Regions from separate parts of the Homo sapiens genome. Here regions 1 and 2 are each linked to region 3. Evidence: promoter capture Hi-C in 16 types of primary human blood cells and fetal thymus (Javierre and others, 2016). All regions are on one chromosome and are shown on one strand. Each heading gives the region's core, a stretch centred on a gene start or on the middle of the fragment in contact. The rest is flanking DNA. Distances are from core to core; before and after follow the strand shown.

Region 1 (3,477 bases), core at 485-2,984, 1.1 Mb after region 3:
TAAACATACATGTGCATGTGTCTTTATAGCAACGTGATTTATAATCCTTTGGGTATATACCCACTAATGGGATTGCTGAGTTAAATGGTATTTCTAGTTCTAGGTCCTTGTGGAATCGCCACACTGCCTTCCACAATGGTTGAACTAATTTACACTCCCACCAACAGTGTAAAAGCATTCCTATTTCTCCACATCCTCTCCAGCATCTGTTGTTTCCTGACTTTTTAATGATCACCATTCTAACTGGCATGAGATGGTATCTCATTGTGGTTTTGATTTGCATTTCTCTAATGACCAGTGATGATGAGCTTTTTTTCATGTTTGTTGGCTGCATAAATGTCTTCTTTTGAGAAGTGTCTGTTCATATCCTTTGCCCACTTTTTGATGGGGTTGTTTTTTGCTTGTAAATTTGTTTACGTCCTTTGTAGATTCTGGATATTAGCCCTTTGTCAGATGGATAGATTGCAAAAATTTTCTCTCGTTCTGTAGGTTGTCTGTTCACTCTGATGATAGTTTCTTTTGCTGTGCAGAAGCTCTTTAGTTTAATTAGATCCCATTTGTCAATTTTGGCTTTTGTTGCCATTGCTTTTGATGTTTTAGATATGAAGTCTTTGCCCATGCCTGTGTCCTGAATGGTATTGCCTAGGTTTTCTTCTAGGACTTTTATGGTTTTAGGTCTTATGTTTAAGTCTTTAATCCACCTTGAGTTAATTTTTGTATAAGGTGTAAGGAAGGGGTCCAGTTTCAGTTTTCTGCATATGGCTAGCCAGTTTTCCCAGCACCATTTATTAAATAGGGAATCCTTTCCCCATTGCTTGTTTGTGTCAGGTTTGTCAAAGATCAGATGGTTGTAGATGTGTGGTGTTATTTCTGAGGGCTCTGTTCTGTTCCATTGGTCTATATGTCTGTTTTGGTACCAGTACCATGCTCTTTTGGTTACTGTAGCCTTGTAGTATAGTTTGAAGTCAGGTAGTGTGATGCCTCCAGCTTTGTTCTTTATGCTTAGGATTGTCTTGGCTATGCGGGCTCTTTTTTGGTTCCATATGAACTTTAAAGCAGTTCTTTCCAATTCTGTGGAGAAAGTCAATAGGTAGCTTGATGGGGATAGCATTGAATCTATAAATTACTTTGGGCAGTTATGGCCATTTTCACGATATTGATTCTTCCTATCCATGAGCATGAAATGTTTTTCCATTTGTTTGTGTCCTCCCTTATTTCCTTGAGCAGTGGTTTGTAGTTCTCCTTGAAGAGGTCCTTCACATTCCTTGTAAGTTGTATTCCTAGGTATTTTATTCTCTTAGTAGCAATTGTGAATGGGAGTTCACTCATGATTTGGCTCTCTGTTTGTCTGTTATTGGTGTATAGGAATGCTTGTGATTTTTGTGCATTGATTTCGTATCCTGAGACTTTGCTGAAGTTGCTTTGATAAGCTTAAGGAGATTTGGGCTGAGACGGTGAGGTTTTCTAAATATACAATCATGTCATCTGTGAACAGAGACAATTTGACTTCCCCTTTTCCTATCTGAATTATTTCCTTCTCCATTCACTTTGGCCTTTCATTTTTGATAACTGAATTAGAAGATTTGTTTTAGCCCAGGTAAGAATATTATATTAAATAATGGCTGCAGTGTTTTCAAGTATAAAACAGATCATGAAAGCTTCATTTTTAGACATTGGATTAGGTTAATATTTCACAAGAGAACAGATTTGCAATTCAGTATGAATAACTTACAGCACCTGGAATATGCATGCATTGTGTTTTGGCCTGAGGGAGAATACAAAGATAAGTAAGACATATACTTGTCCTAAAGAAGCTTTTAGCATATTAAGATAAATAAGAAAAATGTGCCAATCACTATAGTAAAAGGGAGGATATCTGTGCTAATTCTCGATGGTAGAAACTGTATCATAATCATGCTATATTTCTAATACCTATCACCAAGCCTCACACAGATTAGGCATGAAAACTGTCTGTTAATTGTTAAAGAGGAAGTGCTATGAAAGATGTCATAGAACTACATTGTTCAACTCGGTAGCTACTGCCCACAAGTGTCTATTTAAATTAATGTAAATTTAATAAAATTAACGTTTTACTTTTTTAGTCACTAGTCACATTCAAGTGCTTAATAGCCACATGTGGCTAGTGTCTGCTGTATTGAACAATGCAGATTATAAAACTTCAAAGAAAGTTCTATGGCATGGAATTGACAGAGAAGATCAAAAGGAGGAAGGTACTAAAGTTCCCCATTAGGCATGACAGGAAAGGCAGAAAATGGCATTTGAGCTGAGCCTTGATGAATGGGTATGATTTTTAACAAGAGAAATTAGAAGAAGAGTATTCTAGAGAAAGCAAGCAGCAGGGAGAAAGGAGAGCTAAGGAGAACAAGTATCCAAGTTATCCTACATGGCTCGATCTTGTAGAGGACAGAGGTGAGAGAGAAGATGAAGTGGCGGGTCAGGTCTGTGAATCCTAACCTTACTCTCTTTCTCTCCATTCTTTTTTTGTTCCACAGCCTAGGCCACAGGTATCAGGCCTGTTTTTAAACTGAAGATGCTTAAATGACCTCCAGACTAACACTGGTGCTGATCCCATTAGGAATACACATCAACATCCTTCTTAATCTAACCCTTAAGTGGTACTTCAGTTCTCCTACCTAGACATGCACTTTAAATCCAGTCCCTGATTGTGTCCAGTGTATCTGGGTGGACTTCCCCTTTGAGCACTGTCCTAAGTCCTTTCCCAGTCCTCTCCTAACTGCTGGCTTTACTCTTGACAATCTTTATGTCCTCACATTCCATAAAACCCTGTTCCCACACCCTAAACAAGCAGATCTTCCTGGTGCCAAATGTTTGTGCAGACATCCAGTTGTAATTCACCCACATGCTAAAATATCCTGATATTTCATTTTGCTCACTCTTATGTAGAGATCACTCTCACCTTTGGGCACTGTGCCTTTTCCATGAGCATCTACATCTGGATTCATTTTCCCAGTGCCCACCTTATCCAGATGGTAGCCTGATATGTTCTGGTTCTGTGTTCCCACCCAAATCTCATCTTGAATTGTAATCCCCACTGTCGAGGGAGGGTCCTGGTGGGAGGTGATTGGATCATGCATGCTGTTTTCACGATGGTGAGGGAGTCCTCATGAGATCTGATGGTTTAAAAGTGGCAGTTTCCCCTGCACATTCTCTCTCTCTCTCCTGTTGCCATGTAAGACATGCCTTGCTTCCCCTTCGCCTTCTGTCATGATTGTAAGTTTCCTGAGGCCTCCCAGCCATGTGGAACTGTAAGTCTGTGGCAGGCCAGGTCTTCATAACAGCTGAACAGACAGGCCTCCATAACAACTGTTCCGGTACTGACTGAGTGGTTATGTTAAATATTAAAAGCTGATAGAGCCAGTGTCCTTTCACAAAGGCTGGGATGTAACAAAAACCCACCAAGAGTTTTGCCTAGGCCTTTCCTGGGCCTTGAAGCAT
Region 2 (3,376 bases), core at 353-2,852, 1.1 Mb after region 3:
TTGGGTGTGGGAATCTAAGCTACAAGACTTGGTCAGCATTTTCAGATCTCCAATCTCCCCCATTTGTGACCTAGAAAATCTCTGACATGTGGACTGTCCCTCCAATCTCCCCCATTTGTGACCTAGAAAATCTCTGACATGTGGACTGTCCTCACCACAGTATGAGCAGAGGCTCCTGCTTCTTGGTTTATCAGGCAATGCGCAGTGAGGTGTTGAAATGAAAGGGTCAAGCTGTGGTGACTACTAGGGCCAAGTCAAGAGGGAAGAGTAGAACTCATCCCCCACGGCCTCAGTAAAAGCCTAGGAAAGGCCAGAGGAAGAGGCAAAAATGAGAAAGACTTCAACCATCCCCTTGGATGACTTAAAAGAATGGTTCTCAACCCTGATGCACATTGGAATCACCTGGAGAGCTTTATCTTTAAAATCTCACAGCCCTGGTACCACGCCAGACAAATGGAAACAGAATTTCTACGTGTGACACCTGGTTATCAGTATTTTTTTAATAGGTTGAGTATCTCTTATCCAAAATGATTGCAATCAGATGTGTTTCGGATTTCAGATTTTTTCAGATTTTGGAGTATCTGCATTATACTTAATGGTTGAGCATCCCTAATATGAACATGTAAAATCTGAAATGCTACAATGAGCATTTACTTTGAGCATCATGTTGGTGTTCAAATGATTTCGGATTTTGGAGCATTGCAAATTTTGGATTTTTGGTTTAGGGATGCTCAACCTGTAGTTGCTCAGATAATTCCAATGCAATGTGAGTTGAAAACACTAGTTTAAAACAAGAATCCACACCTAAATGGCTACCAGTAATGTAATTTAGGGGGTAAGAGTAAGCAAGAGAGAGAGGAGATGGTGGCAAACTAAACAGTACATGATGCACCTAAGGGGGTAGCTGCAGGAGTTCTGCCTAACTGTTGTCATCTCACAAGTGTGACACCACTTTGCCAGTTGTCCTGATTTTCAGATGTTTGTATCTAAGTTTTAAAAATTGAGTTGTATGATACATGCTACAATGTGGATGAACCTTGAAAACATTAAGCTCAGTGAAGTCAGACACAAAAGATCACATATTATACGCTCCATTTATGTAGAATGTCCAGAATAGGCAAATCCATCACAACAGAAAGTAAATTAGTGGTTTCCAGGGGTTAGGAGGAGGAGAATATGTGGTGTGATTGCTTAATGGATACTGAGTTTCTTTTGAGGTGATGAAAATGGTGTGCAATTAGATAGTTATGACAGTTGCAAAATATGGTGAATTTAAAAACTATGGAATTGTATATTTTAAAATGGTAAATTTCATACTATGTGAAATTTACCTTAATATATATATTTTTTTAAGTGAGGAGGTGCAAGAGGGAAGAGATGGGAATTGGGTTGTTTGGACGAGCTCAGAGCCAAACAAATCCCTTTTATGGGAGTCAGAATGGAACACCTCATGGAAGACAAAAAGTCCATGGCTGAGTGTGGTGGCTCACACCTGTAATCCTAGCACTTTAGGAGGCCGAGGCAGGTGAATCACTTGAGGCCAGGAGTTCAAGACTAGCCTGGCCAACATGACAAAACTCCATCTCTACTAAAAATACAAAAATTAGCTAGGCGTGATGGTGCATGCCTGTAGTCCCAACTACTCAGGAGGCTGAAGTGGAAGGGGGCATTGCTTGAGCCCAGGAGGCAGAGATTGTGATAAGCCGAGATCACAGCACTACACTCCAGCCTAGGTGGCAGAGTGAGACCCTGTGTCAAAAAAAAAAAAGTCTATAAATTGGACTGTAGTTTTTTTTTAAAAAAAGACAATCTAAGGCTGTAATTTATGTCTCCACATCCTTTTACGTCTTCATCCAAACAAATGACAAAGCTGTGTCCGCTGTACCCTTTTCATCTTAAGTCAGAGACAACCTGGGTTTTCTCCTTAATGGGTGCTATGCAGGGCTGCACTGCTAAGTGCACTTGGCTTTGGCAGCCTATAAATAGAAATGGAACCCCTGAGGTGCAGGAGAACAGGCTGGCAGATGAAGCCAATGCTGGCTACTGTTCTTTCTTACTGTTCTGTTACTGAGAGGGGTAAGTGAAACAAACAAAACCCCTGATAACCATGTTCATTAATTGTTACTCCTTTATCAATTGCTTCTGTCCAATAACTCAATTGTAAGTCACAATCCATAATTTATTATCCTCTTCAGTGAAGTTTATTTACACTTTTTTTTTTTTGAGGCGGAATATCCCTCCGTTGCCCAGGCTGGAGTGTGTCAGCATGATCTCAGCTCACTGCAACCTCTGCCTCCTGGGTTCAAGTGATTCTCCTGCCTCAGCCTCCCGAATAGCTGGGATTACAGGCGTGCACCACCAGGCTCAGCTTATTTTTGTATTTTTAGTAGAGACGGGGTTTCACCATGTTGCTCAGCCTGGTCTCAAACTCCTGACCTCAAGTAATCTGCCCGGCTCAGCCTCCCACAGTGCTAGGATTACAGGCATGAGCCACCATGCCCAGCCAAGTTTATTACTCTTAATTACTCACAGCAGGTTAAAATTATTACTACTTCCGTGAGATGCAGCTACAATAAAGACAATGAGTGACAAACCGTTCTTCAAAGAGAGTTTGATGTTTCACTAGTCTTTTCTGGCCTGGGAATATACTTCAAATGGCAATGGTTCTTAGAGGTCCCCAAAATCCTACCATTTTCACAGATCAAAGTGAAATATTATTAAAAACAAAAATAGGCCAGGTGCGGTGGCTCACACCTGTAATCCCAGCACTTTGGGAGGCTGAGGTGGGTGGATCATCAGGTTAGGAGTTCGAGATCAGCCTGACCAACATGGTGAAACCCTGTCTCTACTAAAAATACAAAAAAAAAATTAGCCAGGCATGGTGGCGGGCGCCTGTAATCCCAACTACTCAGGAGGCTGAGGCAGGAGAATTGCTCAAATCTGGGAGGCAGAGGTTGCAGTGAGCCAAGATTGCACCACTGTATTCCAGCCTGGGTGACAGAGCAAGACTCCATCTCAAAAAGAACAAACAAACAAAAAAGAATTCCTGATAAATACCTAATCTTCTAAATATTGGACCATGTTGCAGGTTTGCATGAACTCAGAAATGAGTGAAATCTTACTGCAGATTAGATTCAGACATTTTTTCTTACCTGAATTCTTCTCTGTAGTTATTCCTAATATACTCAGCTAGAGTCCTGCTGTGCCGCAGACAGCTCTTGAGGATGTAAAATTGCTGGTACAACAGAACTGCTTGGCAGGGACTTAGCAGCTGAAATGAAGCTGAAAGACCCCTCACCACTTGTTTCACAATACTGGCCACAAAAGTAATCTAGACAAGGAAAATACAGTTACATGTAGGCTGTGTGCCACCCAC
Region 3 (3,412 bases), core at 222-2,721:
CTAGAAGATACTATGAAGAAAATTGCTAGATTCTCATTTTTTTCTCTCTCTCTCTCTCTCTCTCTCTCTCACACACACACACACACACACACACACACTCCTATCCCTGCACTTTCCTCTATTTTCCCGGCACGTACCGGTCCAGACGGACATGGGATCCCAGACAGACCACATCTGGATGATGAAGAAAGGCGCCCAGCAGACGATGTAAGCCGTCACGATCACAAAAGTCATCTTCACCGTGCGGATCTTGGCCCGGGAAATGGACTTCACGCTGCTGACACAGGGTGCGAGCAGGAACCCCTTTTGGAAGGCCACACCCGCTTGCTCTGCACCCTTGCTCTGGCGCGACGCCGTCTTCCCGCGGACGTTGCACCAGATGTTGTAGCAGATGAAGCCGTAGCAGGTACCCAAGATGACCACGGGCGCCACAAAGATGCCGCCCGTCATCCAGGTCACGTAGGCACGAGAACCCCAGGGCTGGATGAAGGTGGCCCAGCAGTCGCGGGCCTTGGTGACATTGTTCACCTCGATCATGGAGAAGACGAAGTACTGCGGCGTGCTCAGCACGAAGCTCAGCACCCAGGCGGCCGCGATCATGAGGCGCGAGCGGCGCGCGGGCTGTTGCAGAGTCTTGAGCGGGTGGCACACCGCGATGTAGCGGTCGGCTGTCATGACTACCAGCATGTAGGCCGACGCAAACATGCCGAACACCTGCAGGTGCTTCACCACGCGGCACAGCCAGTCGGGGCCGCGGAAGCGGTAGGTGATGTCCCAGCACATTTGCGGCAGCACCTGGAAGAATGCCACGGCCAGGTCGGCCAGGCTGAGGTGTCGGATGAAGAGGTGCATGCGGGACGTCTTGCGCGGCGTCCGGTGCAGAGCCAGCAGTACGCTGCTGTTGCCCAGCACGGCCACCGCGAAAGTCACCGCCAGCACGGCGATCTCCAGTTTGGCCAGCTCCTCGTTGCGCACGTCCCTCGGTGGGCCGTTGCCCTCCCCGAGGGCTTCGGCCTCCCGGCTTGTGTTGCCAGCGCCGGTGGCCAGAGGCCACCATGGGCTGGAGTTGCCCGAGGGCCCCGCGTCGGGACCGGCGGAGAGACGCATGCTGTCCATGCAGCTCCTACTCGGCCCTCTTCGGAGCTCCAGCCCTCGCGGGCCGCTCCCTCCCCGTCTCGGAGGACTTGGGCTCCTCGTCCGAAGCGCAGGGTCTTTGGCGCGCTCGCAGCTTGCCGGGCTCTGCGATCCCTCCAGTGGGCGTCTCCCGGAGCAGCGTCCCGCCTGCCCACTGAGCAGCTCTCAGCAGGGTGAGCTGGCCCCTCTCCCTGCTCTGCCTTTTTTCAACTTCGGCGAGGTCGGGAAGGTGAGCTCCGAGCTTCCGGAAGCACTGGGTTCCCAACTCAAGTATTTATGCGGTGCTTGTTTCCTTGGGACGCGCTCCCTCCCGCCCTATTGCCGGAAGACTGCTGGTTGCCTACTCCCCGCTCCCTGGAGTTTTATTTTTTCCTCTCCCTACGTCGGTGTTTGTCCTCTGCATCACTGTGGAGGGGGTGGAGCTGGGAGACTCGCAGATTCCTCCTCACAGTAGGTGGGATCGTGGCGCTTTCCCGCTTTTCCCTTCCAAAAACTTGGACAACTGGACGAGTCATGCCTTTTCTGGGCTCGTAGCCGTTTCCACAAGCTTCCCTCACTAGCCTTCCTCGCTAGCCTCCTTAACCATGCATTTGACTTCAACAGGCACGCTAAGCGCGGTACCTGGAAACCTCCAGTCCACGCACCGGCGTCCACGCATCTAGCTCCTGCACCTGAACCTGGCTCTCGACCTCACCTCCTCCAGTCCGGGTTTCTTCCTTCTCACCGAGCTCACCCGTGCAGCAGTCTGGCAAATTTTATTCCCCAGGCAAATTTTCCCGGGGCAAACATTTCTCCCCGCTCGTGACTTAAAGAGCTATCTCTTCCTAGTAACGTCTTTGATGCATGCTATTTATTACCCTATGTTTGCGACGGGAAGAACGCACTCATCACTTTGCAGCCCCAGTGGCTGCTGTGCCTGTATTCACAGCGGGGTTTGGGGGGAGTGTCTCCTGGTTTTCTCTATGGAGACTAGGGACTTAAGGAGTTTTCTCTAGATTCCTGGGGTTTTCTGCGGGAAAAGCCTGATTCCCACAGCGGGGATGGCGGAAATTTGGCCGCAGTGGTCCGTGGGGACCGTCTGGTTACTACTGAGTCGTGGGGACATCTTTTTGGGTGGACAAAGAGCAGCTGCCGGACAGCGGCCATCCAGGCAGTGCTGTCCAGGGCAAGGGACAGAAAACCCGCCCGGCTCCTGTGCTCAGGAGTAAGAAAGAGGCAATCTCAAAGAGAGGAAAGAGGCCCTGGGAAGGAGGGGAAACAACCACCTACCTAGTAATCCGTTACTCTGAACAGCTGGAGCCCCTCTGCAGGGCGGGAGGGAGGCAGAAATGCGATCTCCCTCAGCTCTGTTTTAACGTTGGTGAAGATATGCCTCGACGGACAGCAAGGGGGAGCTGTTTTCAGGCAATTTTACAAGGAAGAAAGGAAGCCGTTTCTGCAGTTATCTGCTGTGTAGATGCAGGAGCATGACTTTGTTGGTCAGAACGTTTCAGTATTGTGGCCGTGGTATAAATTTAATTGCCTCAGAAAAATATCACCCTCTGTGAAACGTAGGCAAAAAATGCAAAAGATTTTATTCATTGCAGTTCTCAGTAATAATTCCACTTTACTATCCAGTCCGTTCATGCAGAGTTACCAAGGTTGTCACGTTGAGATGCTGGACTTGAAATCTGGAGTCCTGCTTCCTGTGGCTAGATAATCCTGGGTCTGTGCGTCTTATAAATGGAAATGAAAGGACCTGCCTTTCCTGTTGTTGAGGTCATCGGGAAGATCAAGTAAGACAATGTTCTGTATGGGGGAAATGCTCTAAAAACTGAAAGCTGTGTTGTGTTGGTTCATTTTCTCCAAGATATCCAGGAGGCAGAAGATTGAAATGGTTCAGGGATGGAAGGTAATAGGTAAAAGGTTTCCAGACCACCTGTCTGGAAAAAATCCTTCAAGCAATTAGGTAATAGTCACTGACTCAGAGAATTCACTTTCTTTTAAGTCACAAATTACACTATTAGTGCTCCTGATGAGAAAGAATGTTGACTGAACCTAGTGTCTGGGTATTGCAAAAGTGGTTTGTTGGCCACAGCCTAGTAATTTTGTGGCTCTTGGCCCTACACACTTGAGCTTTTAGGTTTTTTTCAGGAGAGGAAATCTGCAATACAGGCTCACCAATATCTCTGTGGAGGTTCTTATTCCAGGAGATAGGGTGGTGGCCTCTCAGGAAATCATCTGTGTCAGACAATCTGATCCAATTATAAAACTATATCCAATTATCCAAATTATAAAA

The links. Contacts are between HindIII fragments. The CHiCAGO score rates a contact against its expected background, and 5 or more counts as called.
Region 1: a contact is called between a fragment that was not itself captured here and the fragment with the promoter of AVPR1A in region 3, in 2 of 17 cell types (M1 macrophages and M0 macrophages). The highest score is 5.7, in M1 macrophages.
Region 2: a fragment that was not itself captured here is called in contact with the fragment with the promoter of AVPR1A in region 3 in 1 of 17 cell types (M2 macrophages); the score reaches 6.9 in M2 macrophages.

What each region holds. Positions count from the first base shown.
Region 1 is chr12:64,297,839-64,301,315 of GRCh38, forward strand. The region is part of intron 6 of C12orf56 (chromosome 12 open reading frame 56); the gene reads right to left. Among named protein-coding and RNA genes, the nearest start is that of KICS2, 77 kb to the left of the region's middle. The HindIII fragment of the contact is 156 bases long and covers 1,657-1,812 here.
Region 2 is chr12:64,267,384-64,270,759 of GRCh38, forward strand. C12orf56 (chromosome 12 open reading frame 56) reads right to left here. Exons shown (of 13, transcript NM_001170633.2): 12 at 3,153-3,331. Among named protein-coding and RNA genes, the nearest start is that of KICS2, 47 kb to the left of the region's middle. The HindIII fragment of the contact is 5,943 bases long and covers 1-3,376 here.
Region 3 is chr12:63,149,730-63,153,141 of GRCh38, forward strand. It overlaps AVPR1A (arginine vasopressin receptor 1A), which reads right to left and starts at 1,472. Exons shown (of 2, transcript NM_000706.5): 1 at 138-1,472. The coding sequence starts at 1,107. The HindIII fragment of the contact is 3,248 bases long and covers 1-1,679 here.